Regions from separate parts of the Homo sapiens genome. Here region 2 is linked to region 1. Evidence: promoter capture Hi-C in 16 types of primary human blood cells and fetal thymus (Javierre and others, 2016). All regions are on one chromosome and are shown on one strand. The core of a region is centred on a gene start or on the middle of the fragment in contact, and the rest is flanking DNA. Distances in the headings are between cores, read along the strand shown. Region 1 holds the start of STUM (stum, mechanosensory transduction mediator homolog). Region 2 has its middle 27 kb from the start of PSEN2.

Evidence for each region. The method cuts DNA at HindIII sites, captures the fragments that hold promoters and counts their contacts. A CHiCAGO score of 5 or more calls a contact.
Region 2: a contact is called between a fragment that was not itself captured here and the fragment with the promoter of STUM in region 1, in 2 of 17 cell types (M1 macrophages and M2 macrophages). The highest score is 6.7, in M1 macrophages.

The regions. Positions count from the first base shown.
Region 1 is chr1:226,545,724-226,550,639 of GRCh38, forward strand. STUM (stum, mechanosensory transduction mediator homolog) reads left to right here and starts at 3,041. Exons shown (of 4, transcript NM_001003665.4): 1 at 3,041-3,383. The coding sequence starts at 3,182. RefSeq lists a silencer at 2,025-2,319. The HindIII fragment of the contact is 11,252 bases long and covers 1,584-4,916 here.
Region 2 is chr1:226,840,705-226,845,573 of GRCh38, forward strand. No RefSeq gene overlaps it. Among named protein-coding and RNA genes, the nearest start is that of PSEN2, 27 kb to the right of the region's middle. The HindIII fragment of the contact is 1,289 bases long and covers 784-2,072 here.

The DNA of each region.
Region 1 (4,916 bases), core at 1,791-4,290:
CTCCAGCCCATCTTCCACACTGTGAACAAATATATCTCATAATGGTGGTGGTTTTAAAGCCTAGGCCCAAGTCTTTGACACCCCTCCATAGAGAGGCGGGGTGTCCCCCATGAAATCTGGGCAGGCTTGTGACTGCATCGACCAGTAAAGCCCTGCAGAAGTGACACTGTGTGACTTCCAAAGTTAGGGCAGAAAAGTCCAAGTCCACACAGCTTCCACTGGTCCTGCAATGTTCATTCTCTGGGGGCCTCCTCTCAGGAAATTCCCTCTCAGAAGCCAGCTGTCATAGTGTGAAAAGTCCAAGTCACGTGGGGAGGCCATGTGTAGGCGCTTTGCTGACCCATCCTAGTTGACCCAGCTTTCAAGTTACCCCAGTCCAGGCAGGCTGAGATTCCTGAGAATCTTCTCAGAAGTGGATCCTCTAGCCCCAGCTGTTCCAGCTATCAGCCATTTCAGTCTCCCGAGCTGAGGCTCCAGATACAAGGAGCAAAGAAGAATTATCTTGGTGTGCTCTGTCCAAGCTCCTGACCACAGAATTTGTGATCAGAAAAAAATGGTTGTGTTAAGCTGCTAAATTTGGGGGTAATTTGTGACACAGTGATAGTAACTGGAACACTTATGCCACACCCCTGCTTAAAATGTTCCAGTGATTCTGCATCACCACCACCGAGATGAAGTCCAAATTCCTTTGCCATTCAGTACTAGATGCCTGTCCACCCCACCAGATCCATCTCCTGTCTCTGCCCACACAAGCCCTAGTGCCAGCCACACTGCAATTCCTGGAATCATCCCTACTTCCCTGGGCTCCCATGCCTTTGTATATTTTGTTGCTCTGCCTGGATGTCTTTCTGACATCCAAGATATTCAGCAAATCATCTGGAAAACTGGGGGATGCAAATCCACTGACGTCCCTGAAATCCTTTTTCTCCAGGAGGAATGATTGACTGGCCCTAAGACAGTTCAAGTGCTCTGCAAAAGAATATTCACAGAATGTGGGTTATTTTCTAGGTCTCTGAATAAAATACTGGTTATATAGAATTGATTCTGGAGCCAGATTGCCTGCATTCAGCTGCCAGCTCTACCACTGATTAGTGGGGGACTTTGTGCAGCCTGTTTAACTTCTCTGTGCTTCAATTGCCCCATCTGTAAAATGGGGTAATAAATAATCCTTACTTTGTAGAGTTATGGTAAGGATTAAAAGAGTTAAAATGTGTAAAGGGTTTTTAGAATGATGCCTGGCAGAGAGTGCTTGGGTAAATAAGTGTTTGTTGAAAATAAAACAAATCTGCAAATAGTTAACTGTAGTCATTGCTCAAGTCCCTTTGAGTATCGCCTTCTTTGGGACACCTCCCCGAGGCCTCCCCCACGCTAGCTGGCTTCACAGATAGGTCCATGTTGTCGCAGCACCTCCAGCACATCACAGCTGCAACATTCCTCACTGTTTCTGTAAGTCTATCTTTGTAGTTGTCAGTATCTCTCAGCTCATTTCTTAGATTCTTGAAGGCAGAGGCTGGATTTTACTCATTTCTCTCTCCCTGGAATCTAAGTCTTAGTAGGCCTTCAATAATTGTGTATTAAATGGAAGCTTGCTATGATTTTAACCAACACAGTAACTCCAGGCCAGAAAAGGCTAAGCGAGTTCTTCTAAGCCATACAGGTTTTAGTGGCTGAACAAAGACTAAAATTTTTAACCCTGTTCTTCTGACTGCCAAACCTAAGCTAATGACTCGTGTGTGTGTGTATCTGTGTATGTGTACACACGCATGTGTGTGTCCACCAGTATCATCACTAACCCCTGGCCATTTGCTTTTAAAATTATTTTATTCAGAGACTTATACAATAAGTATAAGTATACAATAACCCATGTTCTTTTAGCCTCTTCTGAGACCCTGGGTTGTTTATAATAATAATCACTATTATTCCTGAAGGGAGGCTATTGCACCCTTCCAATTATTCAGACGATTTGCTGACTGTCTGGATAATTCCGAAGCCTTTAACCCCTCCCTAACGTTAGAGGCGGTAACTTTCATCCGTTTACTTTTTCCAGGTGCGGAGGCGAAGCAGCCTTATTCAGAAAATCGAATTCAAACAGGACCTCAAGCTGCCGGCTGTTGCTTCTACCAACTGCCCCATTATTAACGCCAGACGGCGCTGTGTCCTCACTGGCTCTTTAACCACCACGTCGGGCTCACAGAAGGCTCAGGTTTCCTCCAGTATAGTTCAGGGGATGGTGAACGCTTCCCAACAAGCCTGCAACAGGCGCATTTCTTTCTGCTTTTGGTGCGTGTGTGTAGGGAAGTGTCCCATCTTTTAACTAGTCTTGCGGAGACCTGGCCTGGTGTTTGCAAATCTGTTTCCTCTATTATCGATCCGATCTCTGGATTGCTTTTTCTCTGACACTTGAAACAAATTCACTCCTATATATTTTTTAAGTGATTTTTTTTTTTTTTTTTTTTTTTTACAAAATAGAGCTGGGGCGGGGGGGGGGGGGTCTCGCTACGTTGCCCAGGCTGGTTTCGAACTCCTGGGCACAAGTAATTCTCCCACCTTGGCCTCCCAAAGTGGGGAATACAGACGGGAGCCACTGCGCTCGCCCCAAACAAAATCATTTAAATCACAATGCACTGAAGGCCGACTAGGTGTCAGGCGCCGCGCGGTCCGTCCCTTGTCCCCATGTCCCTGGCCAAAGGCTTGCTCTAGATCAGGGGACTCAGCCTCGAGGCTTTCCCGACGGTGTCAGCCAAGCACACACTCCCAGTTCGCAGGGCTTCGTGGTCAAGGTTCCTAGTTCACCTGTCTGGGAGGGCGAGGTGTGTCCACCCCTTCCAGCACCTGGGCAAACAGCTCCCTTTGCGGTCCTCTTCCACTGCTTTCCCTCCGCCCTGATTTTCCATTCCTTGTGAGCGGTGGTTTTGGTTGGGGGGAGGGGGCGGGGAAGGGGCCTGGCGAGGAGGGGCGTCAGAGCGCTGTCACCGGGTGTCGCGCCGCCCTCCCCGCCCCTCCGCCGGGCGTGTGGGGACGCCGGAGGGCGGGAGTCTCCGCGAGCCGCGCGGCGCACGGAGCACGGCGGCCGCCTGAGCTCGGCGCGGAGCCCGGAGCCCGCAGCCGACAGTCTCCTGCTCCCGTACGCTGGGCGCCAGCTCCGGCCGTGCTGCCCGGCTGCCTGAGAGCGCGCCCGGCCATGGAGCCCTCGCACAAAGACGCCGAGACGGCGGCGGCGGCGGCGGCGGTGGCGGCGGCGGACCCCCGGGGGGCGTCCTCGTCCAGCGGGGTGGTGGTGCAGGTCCGCGAGAAGAAGGGCCCCCTGCGCGCCGCCATCCCCTACATGCCCTTCCCCGTGGCCGTCATCTGCCTCTTCCTCAACACTTTCGTGCCGGGACTGGGTAAGACACGGCTGCCGCGACCCTTGCGACCCCCACCCCGCCGCGGGAGGGCGTGGGGGGAGAGAAGGGCGCGGCCGGAGACCTCCTGGCGGGGCCGCGCGCTCCAAGTGCTGCGACCACGCGCCACCGCCCGCTCCTGGCGTCCCCGGGCAGGTGGCAGAAGCGCGTGGAGTGTGCACCCCAGAGGGGAGAGGCTGCGCTGGGGTCTCCGACCCGCAGGCGGGGCCCCAAAGAGCCGGAAACTTTGCGGCCAATGTTGGAGCCCGCAGCGGCGGCCGGAATGGCTCTGCCGGCTTCGGAGTAGGGCTCCCGTCCCGGCGCCCCGATTTCTGCTCCTTCTCTCCGTCGTGTGCATCCGTCCGCGAGCCCACTTCCCCGAGAGGAATGGGGTCGGATCAGAATGAGCTCTAGGGCCTCGGCGGCGAGGATCAAACTCCCGGGCGTCGAAGTCAGCTGAGCCGGGGAAAGAGGACGAGCCGGGCTAGATATACCTGCAGCCCCCTTTGGTTCGCGGAGTGCGGACCGCGTGGGGACGAGAACTCTAGCCAGAGTCTCCTCCGCCTCATTCAGGGGTACCTGCACTTCCGCCAGCACCCCGCAGGGCGCCAGGGGGATGGGGGATGATTTTATTAGTTTGGATGCATGTGGCCAGAGATGAACCCATAGCTCCCTCGGATCCCTTCTGTTCCTGAGAAGTAGAGAGTGCGCCGATGTAATTCTGTGCAGGACTCCGGCAGCCGGCAGGGGTTCTGGTGGCATCTATGTCCCACGTTTTAAAGCAGAGGCCCCTTACAGAGATGGTGCAGGAGGGTGAATGGAGGCAGGGAATGAGAAGTTTTCCTGACCCTCCCTCCCTTAACTCCACCCCCAGGTCTCTGCCTGCACGCCCCTCCCCTCCTCCAGCTTGGCACTGGCTGCTCCTGCGTGCTGGGAGGTGCCCCCCTCTCCCGTGCCCGCCCGAAGAACCAGGCGCCCCAGTGCCCTCTCCGGGAGAAAGCGTGCCCCTGTCGGCGAGCCTGTTGCCAACGTATGGTTCCAAGTTCCCAAGAGCAGAGGCCAGCTGGAAGGGGTTTTCAGTTTGACTTTGGCCTTTCTCACGGTCTCCTCGCTCTTCGCCTGCTTAGCAGGGGCCTCTGCTGCGGTGACAGCCAAGGCCACAGCCACCCACGCAGGACCCGTTCACTTTCCCCTCCGAGCTTACTTGTCTTTCTACCCTAAGGGGCTGCTGCGGCCAGAGCAGCCTATCTGAGCAGTAAGTTAGGTGGCCTTTAGTTGGGCTTCTCTCTTCTGGGGTGCCTCCAGCAGCCTGTCCCCCTGGCTGGTGTCATCAGATCAGCTCTCTTTGCACATTTAGACACTGCAAGGAGGCCAGCTGGTGTTAATCTAGTTTTATCAGAAATTCTCACCTGCTGGAGTAAAAAGAGACTGCCTGCCCCTCCCTCTGGCGGATATGAAGATCCTCCTGAGCCAGCATGCATCTTGATCCACCTTTTTTTTTTTTTTTAAGTGGTGAGGTAAACGCCACCCTATGGT
Region 2 (4,869 bases), core at 178-2,677, 290 kb after region 1:
CGCTTGAGCAAGGAAGTTGAGGCTGCAGTGAGCTATGATTGTGCTACTACTGCACTCCAACCTGGGCAACAAAGCCAGACCCTGTCTCAAAAAGAAATTTTTTTTTCAAGGAAACAGGCCAATTTCAAGCTGTATTAATCTGAAAATGAGGCCACTTAGAGAAAGACAGTCATATGCAGAAAAAGGACAAGCACTCTGCTGGGGGCAGATAGACCCCCTCTATAACTCCCACCAAGAAGGGATGTCTCACGCTTTGCTACCTCTTCTTTTCCCTTGGCCAGAAGAAGCAGTCACCTGAGCAGGGAGCTCAAGGGAGGGAATTTAGATGTGAAAAGAAAGCCTTTCCTCTGTGTGACTGGAAGCAGGCCTTCTCTCCTCCAAACAAATTCTGGATGGAATACAGAGAAATACAGAATATATATATATATATACACACATATTTTTTTTCCAAATTTCTTTTTTCTTTTTTTTTTTTTGAGATGGAGTCTCACTCTTGTTGCTCAGGCTGGAGTGCAATGGCGCGATCTCGGCTCACCGTAACCTCTGCCTCCCGAGTTCAAGCGATTCTCCTGCCTCAGCCCCCCGAGTAGCTGGGATTACAGGTTCCAGCTAATTTTTTGTATTTTTAGTAGAAACGGTGTTTCACAATGTTGGCCAGGCTGGTGTCAAACTCTTGATCTCAGGTGATCCACCTGCCTCAGCCTCCCAAAGTGCTGGGATTACAGGCATGAGCCACTGCACCTGGCCTTTTTCCCAAATTTCTAGCTGGGCAAAATCTCTTTAAGCTTAAATTACACGGAGAAAAATACCAAGGAAAAGACAACATAAACATTTTTAAAATCTTTATTATTTATTTTAAGATATCCTATGTTTACAATGGTCAAGAAAAGAGGAGATAAAATACGTAGTTAAATGTATCGTATTTTTTCATCTTTAAGTAGAACTTACTTTTCAGTTGTTGGGATGTCCATCACAAATATAAGTATGCACCTGTATACTTACGCATTATTATACAGTAAATTAAAATTTACATGCAGTGAAACACACAGCTGTATGTTGAATATACAAGATACATTTGGATTTGGATAAGTGTATACACCCACATAACCACCACCCAGACAAAATATATTCTGTCATCTGGAAAGTTTCCCAGTATTCCCTTTCAGTTAATCTTTATCCCCCCAGAGGAAACCACTGTTCTGATTTCTATCTTGTAGATTAACTTTCCCTGTTCTTAAACTTCATATAAATGAAACCACACAGTAGACATACTTTTGTGGCTGTCTTTTATATATATATATATATACACACACACACACACACACACATATATACACATATACATATATACACATATACACATATATACACATATATACACATATACACATATATACACATATACACACACATATATATACACATATACACACATATATACACACATATACACATATATACACATACACACACATATATACACATATATATACACACACACACATATATATATATATATTTTTTTTTTTTAAGAGACAGGGTCTCACTCTGTCACCAGTGATCACAGCTCATTGTAACCTTGAACAACTGGGCTCAAGTGATCCTCCTACCTCTGCACCTGGACCACAGGCGCATGCCACCACACTGGGTTAATTTTTTTCTTAATTATTATTATTTTGAAATGAGTCTCAGTCTTACTTTGTTGCCCAGGCTGGAGTGTGATGGTGCAATTCTAGCTCACTGCATCCTCTGCTTCCTAGGTTCAAGCGATTCTCCTGCCTTAGCCTCCTGAGTAGCTGGGATTACAGGCACCCACCACCACACCCAGCTAATTTTTGTATTTTTTAGAAGAGACGGAGTTTCATCATGTCGGCCAGGCTGGTCTCGAACTCCCGACCTCAAGGGATCCACCCACCTCAGCCTCCCAAACTGCTGGGATTACAGGTATGAGCCACCATGCCCGGCCTACTTTTCCATTTTTAATTTTATGTTTACTGCTTTTCTTGTGACTGCTCTGAGAAAATTTGTCCTATTCCAAAGTTATGAGAATATTCATCTAAATTTGTTCTAGAAGCTTTATAGTGTTAGCATTTAGATTTATGAAATAGGGGGGCAAGGTTTATTTTTTCCCGTACATTGATTCAATAGTTCCAGCACCATATTTGTTAATGAGACTTCCTCTCCCTATTGAATTATCTTGATATCTTTGTCAGAACTCAAGTGACCATCTATCTATGGACCCTCTTTTTTTTTTCTTTTTTGAGACAGAGTCTCGCTTTGTGGCCCAGGCTGGAGTGCAGTGGCACGATCTTGGCTCACTGCAACCTCCACCTCCCAGGTTCAAGCAATTCTCCTGCCTCAGCCTCGCGAGTAGCTGGGACTACAGGCGCGTGCCACCATGCCCGGCTAATTTTTTGTATTTTTAGTAGAGACGGGGTTTTACAATGTTGGCCAGGATGGTCTTGATCTCCTGACCTTGTGATTCCCCAAGCCCTGGCCTCCCAAAGTGCTGGGATTACAGCTGTGAGCCACTGCACCAGGCCTTGTAGAAATCTTAAAATCAGGTTCTGGCCAGGCAGTGTTGAATAGGAGCAAGAATAGACATTCTTGCATTTTTCCCGATCTAAGAGGAAAGCATTCAGTATTTCACCAGTAAGTATGATACATAGCCTTTATCAGAATAAGAAAATTATCTTATATTCCTGCATTTCTGAGAATTATTATGAATGAATATTGAATTTTGTCAAATGTTTTTCTGACATCTACTGAGATGATCATATGGTTTTTCATTATTCCATTCATAATTATATTGATTGATTTCCAGTATGAAATCAACCTTGCACTCCTAGGATAAACTCCTTTTGGACTTGAGGTATTGTTCTTTTTATATATTGCTGGATTCAAGTTGCTAATATTTTGTTAAAGATTGGTATGTCCATGTTCATGAGGAATATTGGTATGTAATTTTCTTTTCTTCTGGCATCTTTGTTCTATTTTGATTTCAAGACAGTTTTTTGCTGTTCTCATCAAACAAATTGGAAACTATTCCTTCCTGTTTCACTTTCTGAAAGAGTTTGTATAAGATTGGCATTATTAATTTGTCCTTAAATGTTTTAAAGAATTTACCAGTGGAACCATCTGGGCCTGAAGTTTTATCTGTGGGAAGGTTTTAAATTAGGAAGTCAGTATCTGTAATAGGCAATACCTATTAAAAGGGACAATTTAGATTTTGTATACTCTTGTGTCAGTTTTGATGATTTGTATTTTTCAAGGAATTTTCTCATTTCATCTAGGTTACTGAATTTAATGGCATGCCATTATAATAATATTCATTTTTTATCTTTTTGATGTCTGTAAGATCTATGATGATATCCCCCCTTTCATGCTGATATTGATAATTGATATTTTCTCTTTTTCTTCATAATCGGCCTTACTGGAGTTTATCAATTTTATTAATCTTTTCAGAGAACTAACTTCTGGATTTGTTAATTCCTTGTTTGTATTGTGTTCACTTCTGTTCTTATCTTTATTATTTCCTTTCTGCTACTTATTATGGGTTTAATTTGCTTTTCTTTTCTAGTTCTTAAAGTGAGGTTTGGATCATCATTTTAAAAATGTTATTCTTTTATAACACTGTAAGCATTTAGTGCTATAAATTTTACTCTAAGCACCGCCTTAGCTACAGCCCTTAAATTTGCTATGGTGGATTTTCACTCAGTTTGAAATATTTTCTAATTTCCCTTGTGGTTTCCTTCTTGTTCCATGGATGCTGTTTAATTTTCAAATATGTGGGGCTTTTCTAGTTATCCTAGTATTGATTTAATAAGAACCAATTGTTGTCATAAGAAAACATACTCTGTAAGATTAAAACTTATTCCTGTAATCCCAGCACTTTGGGAGGCTGAGGTGGGCAGATCACCTGAGGTCAGGAGTTGAAGACCAGCCTGGCCAACATGGAAACCCCGTCTCTACTAAAAATACAAAAATTACCCAGGTGTGGTGGTGTGCACCTGTAGTCCAGGCTGCTTGGGAGGCTGAGGCAGGAGAATCGCTTGAACCTGGGAGGTGGAGGTTGTAGTGAGCCAACATTGTGCCATTGCACTCCAGCCTGGGTAACAGAGGAAGACTCCATCTTAAAAAAAAAAAAAAAAAAAAAAAAAAAGGCCAGGTGCAGTGGTTCATGCTTGTAATCCCAGCACTTTGGGAGGCTGGGGCAGGTGGAACACCTGAGGTCAGGAGTTCGAGACCAGCCTGGCCAACATGGTAAAACCCTGTCTCTACTAAAAATGCAAAAATTAGCCAGGTGTGGTGGCGTATGCCTGTAATCCCAGCTGCTCAGGAGGCTGAGGCAGGAGAATTGCCTGAACCCGGGAGGTGGAGGTTGCAGTGAGCCAAGATCGTGCCACTGCACTCCAGCATGGGCAACAAGAGCAAAACTCCATCAAGAAAGAAAGAAAGACAGGAAGGAAGGAAGGAAGGAAGGAAGGAAGGAAGGAAGGAAGGAAGGAAGGTAGGTCAGTCAGGAGGGAAGTCAGGAAGGAAGGAAGGAAGGAAGGAAGAAAGAAAGGAAGAAAGGAAGAAGCCCCTCTAAAAAATGGAAATGGCAAGGAAGTAGATTTTTTTCCCTAGAGCCTCCAACAAGAGCAAGGCCCTGGTTTGGCCCAGTGAAACTGATTACAGACTTCTGACCTCCAGAGCTGTAAGGGAATATATGTGTGTTGTTTTGAGCCACTCAGTTTATGGTCATTTGTTATAGCAATCATAGGAAACTAACACATGTTTTGGCATCTGAAAGTGGGGTGTTGCTGCAACAAATACCTAAAAATCTGGAAGTGGGGTGCTGTTGTAAAAATACCTCAAAAATGTACC